3 separate regions of the Homo sapiens genome follow, and regions 1 and 3 are each linked to region 2. The links are contacts of gene promoters, found by promoter capture Hi-C in blood cells and fetal thymus (Javierre and others, 2016). All regions are on one chromosome and are shown on one strand. Each heading gives the region's core, a stretch centred on a gene start or on the middle of the fragment in contact. The rest is flanking DNA. Distances are from core to core; before and after follow the strand shown.

Region 1 (3,896 bases), core at 383-2,882, 99 kb before region 2:
GTCTCTGTCTGTGGCGCTGACGCTGCCGATGTGCAGGGCGGGGCTGTTGTTCTCGCGGACGAACAGGGTGTAGGAGGTTTGGGTGAAGGCGGGGGCGTTGTCATTGACGTCGGAGACCTGCACAGTTATGCTCTGCTGGGTTTTCAGCCTTGGTGTCCCCAAATCAGTGACCGTGATAGTGATGTTGTACTCGGCTCTGCTCTCTCTGTCCAGCGCGCCTTCTGTTACCAGGGTGTAGAAATTCTCCACGGAAGGTCTTAGTAGAAAGGGGAGATTGTTCTCTATTGAACAAATAACCTGTTGGTTATGTCCAGAGTCTGCATCTGAAACACTGAAAACTGCCACTGTGATCTCTGGTAAGTTTTCTGGGATGAGGCTGATGAAGAACGACATGGTGAGTTCAGGGGCATTGTCATTCACGTCCAGGACCCTGACGACTAAAGAGCATTTTCCTGATAGGCCTCCACCATCTGTAGCCTCAACATCCACGTCATAAGACTGAATTTCCTCAAAATCCAAAGCCTTTCTCAGCCGAATTTCTCCTGTGATTGCGTTTATTTCGAAGGGTTGGTTGACGTCATCGACTTGAAACAGGGCGTAAGATACCTTCCCAAACGATCCTGCATCTAAATCTCTGGCTGAGACGGTAATAACCAGAGAGCCGAGGGGGTTGTTCTCAGGGACTTGTGCTTCATAGAGCTCCTGAGCAAACTCGGGGACGTTGTCATTGATGTCCAAAACCTGGATCTGAATCTCGGAGGTCCCTGACCGGGGCGGAGACCCGCCATCCAGCGCGATCAGCGTTAGCCTGAGTTGGGGCTGCTCCTCGCGGTCCAACGGTTTGTCTAGCACCAGCTCCGGGAACTTCCTGCCTTCGCTGCGATTGCGGGTGAGAACGTGGAAGTGAGGGTTGGAGCTGATTGTGTACCTCTGAAGGCCGTTGCTGCCGGTGTCTAAATCGTGTGCCATTTTCAAAGGAAATATCTTTCCTGGCATAGTAATTTCTGATATTTTCAGGAGCATTTCTCTGGCAGGGAATTCCGGGGCGTGGTCATTTATATCTCTGACTCGCAAGGAAGCCTGAAAAAACTGCAAGGGGTTTTCCAGTAACACTTGGAAAGGTAGCACACACGGCTCAGTGGAGCCACACAGCTCCTCCCGGTCCAGTTTTTCATTTAGCAGTAAATCATGGGTCTGTGGATCAAACTGCAAATGTTGTCTGTTCCCTTTGAAAACAACCCGAGCGCCCCGCGAAGCCAGCTCCCCCACCCTCAGTCCCAGGTCCTTTGTCAAGTTGGCCACAAACGTGCCACTTTCTGTCTCCTCCAATACGGAATACTGAATCGATTCAGAACCCACCTCTCCCCAAAGCATCAATAAAATGAAGAAAGCCACTTGCCTTTTCTTGTTCTGTACTTTAGTTTGCATCATGTCTATTATGTCTGAATACGGAAGAAAAATCCTTTTCAGCTCCCAATCACCACATCTACCGTCGACCCTCTCGGATGTCTTTGCAGAGATTTTTAAATTCGTTCTTACAACTTGTCTGGCGACGACTGCCTTCCCGGACACATCTATCTCAGCTTTAGCTGTAAACGTGGTCTGTATTTTTACTTGGCTTCTGGATGAAACGGAGTCCACCGAGTCTGCAGAGCTTTCATTCACTCTCTTAGCTTGTACCGCCACCACGCGTTCAAACTAATAACTTCATGAGATGTTTTCAGGTCAATAGCATTTCAGAAATCTGAGCATTATAAAGACTTTTAAGTCGAGTCAGTGTTTCTCAAACTGAGTGCGTGGACCGCATGCATAAATAATTGCTTGCGAGCGTTGGTTTTTTTGTGTGTATGTTTTTGTTTTTAAGCCAATTCCTGGGTTCACTCCCCTCTAGAACTTGAATCAAATTCCCTGGTGGTGCTAATTAAGGAGAAAGATTGAAGTGCAGATTCTACACTTCAGTCTTTCTCCTTTGATGCTTCAGCAGTGCAATTTATCTCTGATGAACTATTTAATCTATTAGTCCAAGAGGTACACTATTTAATTGTCCCAACAAACAATGCAAAACAACGAAGTTTGTTAGCAACAATAATGGTAAAATAAACAATAAATTATCTAAATTATATGACTCATAAATGGCATGAAAAAAAAAACCTACTTTGTTATATAGTTATGCCTGCACAGTAAAAAGAACAATTAGGCTATTAGGAGGAAAACTGAGGCCAAGAAGTACGTATGATACATGTATCTAAGTAAATTAAAGTATTTAAAAGAGGGACTAGAAGCAATCAAGTAGTTGTCATAAGCATTTTAGGATTCTACTCCATTTTTGCATGGATAGAATTAGACATTGTTTTAACAGTCTTGTGCATTTTATTTTTTGATCAAATTCCCCTCTTACATTATTTAATCAAGGTCCAAATATATTACCGTGTTGTACAAACATGATGCAACACAGAAAACAAACATTCAAGAATCACCTTCACCGTCTTCTCACAGCAAAAAGAACACCAAGTCCAATAAATACAGGCCAAATTAAGGTACTGTTAAAACAGGTGAGTTACATTTGAGTGAATGCCATGGAATTCAATGATGGAATATTATGGCTATATCCATTCCCATCTCACTAGTTTCTACTCAGATACATTGGAACATGTATCTCTAAACAAACTGAAAATGTGTGAAATAGATTAGTGCACATAGAAGAGGTAAAATATGCCAAACAATTCAATTCATTTCAGATTAATTTCATATTTATTGAGAGGTGAAATCAATTGAGTTCAAACAAAGTTCACTTCAGGTAAGGGCCAAGGTGATAGAAGATTAAAAATCAAGATATTTTCAAATACATAAATGCTAGGCAAAACAAATAAGGCTAAATAAAATCTAAACTCTGAATAGCTGAGATGATCTTGTAGTTCAAAATCACCTCTATGTAGCCAGAAAAACAAAAGATTATGAATGTGACCAGCCTCCAGGGTTCACTTGATAGATGCTACTGGGAACACACTGTTCCTTGAGAATGTAACAAAATGAAATTATGAAATAAACCAACAATAATAAACATATTGGACTGGTGTCATCTCTTTGCTGAAACAAGGCCATTATTTCCTGCTCAATCTTAAATGCTTCCTTCTTTCGGTGAGCATTCTGAGTTCTGATTCCAGCTTAACGGCATCCACAAAGTCTTTTATTCACTCTGTTTCTCTGAAGCACCACCAGGCATCCTCGAATATAGGTTGTTGAATTATTTTTTTACGTCAGAGCAAATTTATCAGCAGTACAGTATTTGTCAAACTCCATTTAGATCCTTGAAATGTCTTTGATAACATTGGTAGTTATATAGAAAGAGGATAATAGCTCAAAGTACCCCAAAAAGATATCAGTTGGGTCTATCAAGAAACTGCCTTTTTATAGAAAATGGATTACGTTAGATTGTTTCAGGAGAATGTTTCTCTGTGTTGCCCTCTTTTGCTTTGATTTGATTGACTAGAGTAGAGTTGAATTAAGTTTGCATTCGTAAACATGTTCTCACAAGGACTCATTAACTTAAAATTTTTATTATGGAAAAATTCTAACATATACAAAGTAAACAGAATAAGCCTCTGTACACAATCAGTTTCACAACATTCTGTTGTCTTGTTTTGTCTATACCTTTCTCTCCATTCTCTGCTTCCCGCTTAATGATTACTTTTGTATAGTTCTTTTCTTAAGGCAATGTTTACAGAAATTGAAATGCACCAATCTTAACTGTACCATTTTAACAAATGGATTCATGTGTGTAACTCACACTTTTTTCAAGATACGGAACATTTTCATCATTCACTGGAAATCATCTTAATCATATTTTGAAGCTCAGTTTTGTTAACTGGGGAGCAAAACCTTGGTCTCATCTGGAC
Region 2 (4,029 bases), core at 212-2,711:
TCTTCCCGAAATATTGGAGGATTGTCATTAACGTCGGATATTAGCACCTCTATCATAGTCTCGGCAGACAAGCTAGGTGGTCCAGTATCCATGGCAACAATGGTGATATTATAGCCTGAGACCTCCTCCCGATCCAAGCTTCTGTCAGTGACCAGTGAGTAAGAATTCCCAAATGTAGGTTTGATTACAAAGGGAAGGTCTTCTCTGAGGAAGCAGGTGACTTTTCCTCCCACTCGAATGTCCCGGTCTCTGATAGTGAAAAGGGCTACTACTGTCTGTGGTGGTGAGTCTTCAGGGAGTGGGCTGGACACAGAGGAGACCATCACTTCGGGAGGATTGTCATTCACATCCACCACTTCTACCAGGACTTTGCTGTGGGCAGAGAGGCCTCCACCATCTGTAGCTTGAATGTCAATGTCGTATGTTTCAATGGCTTCAAAATCGAGGGGTCCTCTTAGTCGAACTTCTCCATTTTGAGGGTCAATCTGAAACGTCTTGAGAATTGCTTCTGGGTTTTGAGCTAAAGAGTAAGTTATCGCTTTGTTGGTGCCCTCGTCTAGGTCCACGGCAGTCACCGTGGCCACCAAAGAGCCATTGGGGCTGTTCTCTGATACCTGGGCTCTGTACACCAGTCGCGAGAACTGGGGCACGTGGTCGTTGACATCCAGAACCACCACGTGGATGTGAGCTGTGCCAGACTTAGGCGGGGACCCGCCGTCCACCGCCGTAATTGTCAAGTTGACTTCAGGCTGCTCCTCTCGGTCCAGGGGTTTGTTCAGCACCAGCTCAGCATATTTAGGCCCGTGGCTGCAGAAGCGGGTGTGCAGGTGGAAATACCCATTGGCACTCAGGGTGTAGTTCTGGAGACCGTTAAGGCCCACGTCCAGATCCTGGGCGCTCTGCAGAGGAAAACGTGAACCCAAAGGGGTGCTCTCCGGAATCTTTAAAAGCGGCTCCTTGTTTAGGAAAACTGGGGCATTGTCATTGATATCAAATACCCTGACCTCGGCCCGGAAGGACTGCAGCGGCTCCACCAGGACTACTTCAAAGTGCAGAACACAAGGGTCGGCTTTGCCACAAAGTGACTCCCGATCCAGTTTCTCCTTCACAAACAAATCTCCCGTCTTGCGGTGGAGCCGGAAATGCATTTTGTTGCCCTCGGAAACCAGCCGCGCCCCGCGCGCAGCCAGCTTCCCTACCTCCAGTCCTAGGTCCTTAGCTACGTTGGCCACAAACGAGCCGCTCTCCATTTCCTCTGCCACTGAATAGCGGATAGTTGTCGCATCCCCCACAGATATGCACAGAAAAATGAGAAGAGATCCCACTTGCCTGTTTTGCAAAGATTTTCTGCGCGTACCCGCCATCAGTTCTCACAAGCGCGCTCTCTGCAATCAGAGCCAACTGTTGCGGATATACTTTCACTTTTCTGCAACAGGTTACTGCAACAGCTGCTCTCCGCTTCACTAGCCTCTAACTGCAGCACCACCAAAGGCTAGCCGAGCCCATTAAGCTGTTTTGCACTTGAAAGAAAATTTGCATTGAGCGACTCAACTCCCCAGTCTAGCGAATGTATTAATAGATATGTTCTCATTCCGGAGAGTTAGGTAGAGGTTGAAAGTTTGTTGCCAAAGCAACAACAGACTCACCTGTTAATTCCCTTTCAGGAAAAAAAGTCCTTGGGAATTGAGAAGCCAATGAGATTAGTCGTTCAAGCTGAAGTCATTCTATCTGCTAGCTGTCTGGAGCCACTGAAGCTGTGGGCGAACAGCAACAAGTTTAAGCTACATCTGCACACTCTGCGGTCCATCCAGAGACCAAGAAAGAAGCACAAGGATCCTGCAGAGTCTTCCGAAGCCCAAGCCAAATATATGAGGCAGGGAGCTAGAGAATGTGGAGGAAGTGGTCAGTAGGAAAAGGAATGGGAACAGACATTCTCCTTCAGAAACTTGAGGTCCAGTAAGTACACTGACAGGGGACTAAGCCAACTGACCTCTTGATTTGCACTACGCTATCATGCTACTTCTACGTATTCGCTCCGCCCCCCTCCAAATATCTGTATACACGTGCACAAAGGGAGCAGCTGGCTTGTCACTTATGATTATAATGGCAGTAGTATTTATTGGATATGATTTCCATGTACTGAGACTATGACAAGTGATTTACATGCATTATTTAATTTAATACTTGCAACAACTATATGGAGTAGACATTATTAAAAAAAAAAAAAGACAAAGAAAGTGAGATGGGAGAGGTTATGTCAAGGTCCCCTACCTAGCAAATGTTAGAAATAAAACTCAATTTAATTTTGTCTGACTCCGAAGTCTATGCTCTTAATCAGTACACTACTCTGCTTCCCAGATAATATAATGAATAAATCAAATGAAGATAAATATTTGGTTTTGGATTTTAAAGCAAATAAAATAAGATTGCTTACACATATTGAAAATGACCTAATAGAAATATAGGAGATATTTGTTGAGTTTCCTTTATGATCATAGGATAATAGAATGTTTAATAAGACATTTCAGAAAGATGAGATCCAGTCTCCTTCTCACCCACTCTCCACTTTAAAAAAAAAAAAAAACAGATGAAGAAACTAAGGCCCGAAGTGATGAAGTCACTTGCCCAATTCATACAGCTACTCATGGCAGTGTAAGAACTAGAACTTGTCTTCTGATGCTGTCTCATGCTCATTACCTAAAACATTTGATTTCTCATTTGTGCTCAATACTTTATGTCCCAGGTGCTATAAAATTATGGCCACTTAACGGAAATCTAACTATATTTTCCAATAGGAAAAAAAGAATGAAAGTAGAAAGTGTACAGAACATTAATTACATCCTGACATGAGGGAATTAATGAATCTCTCAATCTCTGTCAGTTATTTTAACACCTGGCTTAAGTGTGCATCCTTAAACAGTTTAGTTTTGCCTCTTTTGAAAACTATATATCTTACTTGAGTATGAGTAGAAATAAAACAAAACTATGTATCAAGTAAAGTGTACAGTAGGTAATCCTTTGAATTTTGTTTCTTTCCCTCATTTTTTAGCTCAATGTAAGATTGGTGTTATCTTTAGCTCTAGTTCATTTATTTCCATTACCGTATAAAATACCAATATATTGTCAATGTCCTTTAGCTAGAGACCATCAGACACACACCTGTAGTTGAACAAAGTTATATTTACTGACTTATTATAACAAGGGAAGCTGTACACCATAGAGAGTCATGGAGCATCTCAGTGAAACGGTGTTAGAAAGAACATATATTTGGTCTTGTGTTAGATGATTTGGGGGAGGTTTGAAGCAGAGTGCTCTGGATTGGATGTCATCATAAGTGGAGTTAACTCTATGATGAGTATATTGATAATTCTTATGTAGAAGGTGAGAGGAAAGGGGTGAGGCTAACTCTGTGATTGGTAAGTAAGCTGAAGTGACTAATACTAGCCAGGACAGAAAGATGTTTGGGCATTTTTGTGGATTGGACAATACTCTTTTTTGTCTGTATTTAGACACACTTATGGTGTGCTCTCATTTTCCTCTTGCTCCATCATAGTCATGGTATGGCCTTGTCTGATACTGGTGTCCTATGAAATCATTTTTTGTTCAACAGAAGATCACTATGTCCTAGCTGTGAGTGTCAGGCCAGCTCCTAGCTCTCGTGGACTGCTTTTGTCTTTTTCAGTATGAATGCAGCAAAATGCATTTACCTATTTTATTATTCTGCTGCTCATAGCATATCATTGTACGTGTCACTTTGTGCACATGTATACACATATTTTGGGGGGGAATATATACATAGAAGTAGCATTGATATCATAGGATATGTTCTTTTCAGCTTTACGTGATGTCACCAAACTGCTTTCTAAGAAGTTGTACTGGCTGGGCGTGGTGGCTCACGCCTGTAATCCCAACACTTTGAGAGGCCGAGGCAGACCAATTATGAGGTCAGGAGTTCAAGATGAGCCTGACCAACATGGTGAAACCCCGTCTCTACTGAAAATACAAAAATTAGCCAGGGATGGTTGTGCG
Region 3 (3,643 bases), core at 765-3,264, 110 kb after region 2:
ATTATTTTTTTCTGTAGAAACGCGTTTCTATCATAAACATATATTTAAAAACTGTAAAGAAAATGTTAGGAAACTAAGTCTAATGATATAAAGAAGGATTATACATCATAAGCAACCTGAGTTTATTCCAAGAATGCAAGATTGGTTTATCATTAACAAATCAACCAATATAATGCATGCTATTAATAAAAGGATAAAAATCCATATTATCCATTCAATAACAGAAAATATGTGATAAATTCAATGCCTATTCATGATTTTTAAAAAACATAATAAATTAAAAAACAAAGGGAACTTAATAAATCTGATAAAGGATTTTTGCAAATAAACCCAATCAAACAATGTATTTCATATTAAATATTTAAAAACTTCCTCTCTGAGACCAGGAATAAGACAAGATTATCCATTAACATTACTTCTATTCAATTTTATACTGAATTTCATAGGCAATGACAGAAAGCAAGAAAACTATGTGATTAGAAAGTTTTTAAAAGACCAGGCATGGTGGCCTATGCCTGTAATCCCAGCACTTTGGGAGGCTGGCGTGGGAGGATTGCTTGAGCCCAGGAGCTCCAGACTAGCCTGGGCAATGTAGTGAGACTCTATCTCTATTTTTTTAAAAAAAGAGAGAAAGTAAAAAATACAATAATAAAACTAACATTATTTGGGAATAGCATGACAGTATATGTAGAAAACCCAAAATATAAAAATATGAGATTTTACTATTTAGCAAGAACATTGGATACAAAGTTAACATAAAATCAGTATTATTTCTATATACTTTCAACAAAAGCCAATTATCAAATTAAACTTTTTTTTTTTTTTTTGAGACGGAGTCTCACTCTGTCGCCCAGGCTGGAGTGCAGTGGCGCGATCTCGGCTCACTCCAAGTTCCGCCTTCCAGGTTCATGCCATTCTCCTGCCTCAGCTTCCCGAGTAGCTGGGACTACATACGCCCGCCACCACGCCCGACTAATTTTTTGTATTTTTAGTAGAGACGGGGTTTCACCGTGTTAGCCAGGATGGTCTTGATCTCCTGACCTCGTGATCCGCCTGCCTCAGCCTCCCAAAGTGCTGGGATTACAGGCGTGAGCCACCATGCCCTGCCTTTCTTTTTCTTTTTAGATGGAGTATCACTCTGTTGCCCAGGCTAGAGTGCAGTGACGCGATCCCAGCTCACTGCAACCTCTGCCTCGCAGGTTCAAGCAATTCTCCTGCCTCAGCCTCCTGAGTAGCTGGGATTACGGGTATGTGCCAACATGTCCAGCTAATTTTTGTATTATAAAATTAAACTTTTAAAATAGCATTAAAATATCAGCTATCTAATAAAAGTTGTGCAATACCCCTATATACACATACACACACATAAACATTAAGATAAAATAATAAAATAAATGGAAGAAGCCGGGCGCGGTGGCTCACGCCTGTAATCCCAGCACTTTGGGAGGCCGAAGCGGGTGAATCACGAGGTCAGGAGATCGAGACCATCCTGGCTAACACGGTGAAACCCCGTCTCTACAAAAAATACAAAAAATTAGCCGGGCATGGTGGCGGGCGCCTGTAGTCCCAGCTACTCGGGAGGCTGAGGCAGGAGAATGGCATGAACCCGGGAGGCGGAGCTTGCAGTGAGCCGAGACTGCGCCACTGCACTCCAGCCTGGGCGACAGAGCGAGACTCCGTCTCAAAAAAAAAAAAAAAAGATAAATGGAAGAATATACCTTGTTAATCGGTTGTCTGTCTCAATATTGTCAATGTTAACAAGCTTCATATTTTTATAGATTCAATAAAGATCAAAATAAGATATTTTCAATATACCCCATATTTTCTACAGATTCAATATAGTGCCAATTAAAATCAAAGCAGGGTTTTTTAAAATAGAAACTGAGAAGCTGAATCTACAATTTATATAGAAATGCAAAGGGCCAAAAATAGCTAAGTTAATCTTGAAGCAGAATAACAAAGTGAGAGAACTTACACAATTAGATATCAATACAAATGAAAAGTTACTATATTTAACACAGAATGTATTGGCACAAGAATAGACAAGTTGACCAATGAAACAGAATAGACAGTCCAGAAACAGAATATATAAAGTCACGTTGCTTATGACAAAGGTAGCACTGCACAGTAGCAGCGAGGAAAGTAGGCAATCTAACTGGATTTACAAGTGGAAAATATAAATCTTGACTTCTACATTGCACTATATTCAAAAGCAATTTCAGGTAATTTAAGATCTAAATGTGCAAGTTAAAACAAGAAAGCTTCCAGAACTACAGCAACCACTAAACAGATGTGGTTATTTAAGCTTAAATTAATTAAAATTAGTAACATTAAAAATTGAGTAGCCCAGTTTCACTAGCCACATTTCAAGTGCTCAGTAGCTACACATTCCATATATGCAGATAGAGAAAATTTATAGCATGTCAGAAAGTTCTATTGGATAGCAATGTTATAGAAGAAAACACAGGAATATATCTTCATGACTTGAAGCAGGATATGTTTTCTTTAAAAGGATAGAAAGAATACTAAATAAAAAAGACAACTTTGGCTGGGCGTGGTGGTTTAGGCCTCTAATCCCAGCACTTTAGGAGGCCAAGGCGGGCAGATCACTTAAGGTCAGGAGTTCGAGACCAGCCTGGCCAACATGGTGAAACCCTGTCTCTACTAAAAGTATAAAAATTAGCCGGGTGTGGTGGTGGGTGCCTGTAATCCCCGCTACTCGGGAGGCTGAGGTGGGAGAATCGCTTGAACCCGGGAGGCAGAGATTGCAGTGAGCCAAGATTGTACCACTTTACTCCAGCCTGGGCAACAGAATGAGAATCTGTCTCAAAAAAAAAAAAAAAAGATAATATTGATAAATTGGAGCTCATTAATTGCTAATCAAAAGACACCATTAAGCAGTATGGAATATGTGTAAATACTATACTACTATGAAATAATCTCGTTTATATTTTTAAGTGAAAAAACTCAAAGTGGGGAAGAATGTGTATTGTATGGAATAATAGATACTAGACTTCTCTAAATATATTTTGTTTTATAAGTTTATTTTGGAGCCATGTAAATATTTCACATAATTATAAAAGAAAATTAAAATTTAAAAAGCAAGCCCTAAATTTGAAAGCGACTTGAAAAAAGCCTAGCTCTGTATCTAGCTGGTGGCTTAACTACACAGAGAGGAACTTTTCCAAGATACTTTAAAACACAATAATTTGACTGTACATGCCTACTGGGCATTTGTAAGGATGTGCCTTATAAATGAAAAGAATGACAAAAACTTAAACTGCTACAGTATCATATTATTTCTGTAGTGCTGAAATTGTTTTCTAAGTCCATTGTTTGAGTCCCGTGGGATAACAAATGAGTAATTCTGTTGACGTTAATGAAAACTGGGATTTGACGTATGGGAGAAATAGGAATGTAAGATTGATGAAGTTAAGTAAAAACCTCGGAGTGCTGAACTTTATTAGATTAGTATAAACATGTGATGTATTTTATCTTTTAAAAAATAGACATCCCTTAGCTCAGTAGCTGAAGATACCTAGAAACAGCAACTGACCCAGCAGCAATAAGCACACCTGTTGTTGAGATTATATCTCTAAGTATCATCTTTCACTAAAAATAAGTGAAAGCTCTTTGAAAAATG

What was found. Contacts are between HindIII fragments. The CHiCAGO score rates a contact against its expected background, and 5 or more counts as called.
Region 1: a contact is called between the fragment with the promoter of PCDHB6 here and the fragment with the promoter of PCDHB1 in region 2, in 4 of 17 cell types (M2 macrophages, M1 macrophages, M0 macrophages and 1 more). The highest score is 7.1, in M2 macrophages.
Region 3: a fragment that was not itself captured here is called in contact with the fragment with the promoter of PCDHB1 in region 2 in 3 of 17 cell types (M1 macrophages, M0 macrophages and endothelial precursors); the score reaches 6.5 in M1 macrophages.

Annotation. Positions count from the first base shown.
Region 1 is chr5:141,147,793-141,151,688 of GRCh38, reverse strand. It overlaps PCDHB6 (protocadherin beta 6), which reads right to left and starts at 1,632. Exons shown (of 1, transcript NM_018939.4): 1 at 1-1,632. The coding sequence starts at 1,431. It also overlaps PCDHB@. The HindIII fragment of the contact is 6,099 bases long and covers 1-3,896 here.
Region 2 is chr5:141,048,806-141,052,834 of GRCh38, reverse strand. It overlaps PCDHB1 (protocadherin beta 1), which reads right to left and starts at 1,461. Exons shown (of 1, transcript NM_013340.4): 1 at 1-1,461. The coding sequence starts at 1,364. PCDHB1-AS1 (PCDHB1 antisense RNA 1) reads left to right here. Exons shown (of 4, transcript NR_105056.2): 3 at 1,665-1,956. It also overlaps PCDHB@. RefSeq lists an enhancer at 1,052-1,880. The HindIII fragment of the contact is 4,524 bases long and covers 141-4,029 here.
Region 3 is chr5:140,935,096-140,938,738 of GRCh38, reverse strand. All of the region lies in intron 1 of PCDHA1 (protocadherin alpha 1), which reads right to left. The region is part of intron 1 of PCDHA2 (protocadherin alpha 2); the gene reads right to left. The region is part of intron 1 of PCDHA3 (protocadherin alpha 3); the gene reads right to left. All of the region lies in intron 1 of PCDHA4 (protocadherin alpha 4), which reads right to left. It also overlaps PCDHA5, PCDHA6, PCDHA7, PCDHA8, PCDHA9 and PCDHA10, and 5 more genes. Among named protein-coding and RNA genes, the nearest start is that of PCDHAC1, 11 kb to the right of the region's middle. The HindIII fragment of the contact is 499 bases long and covers 1,765-2,263 here.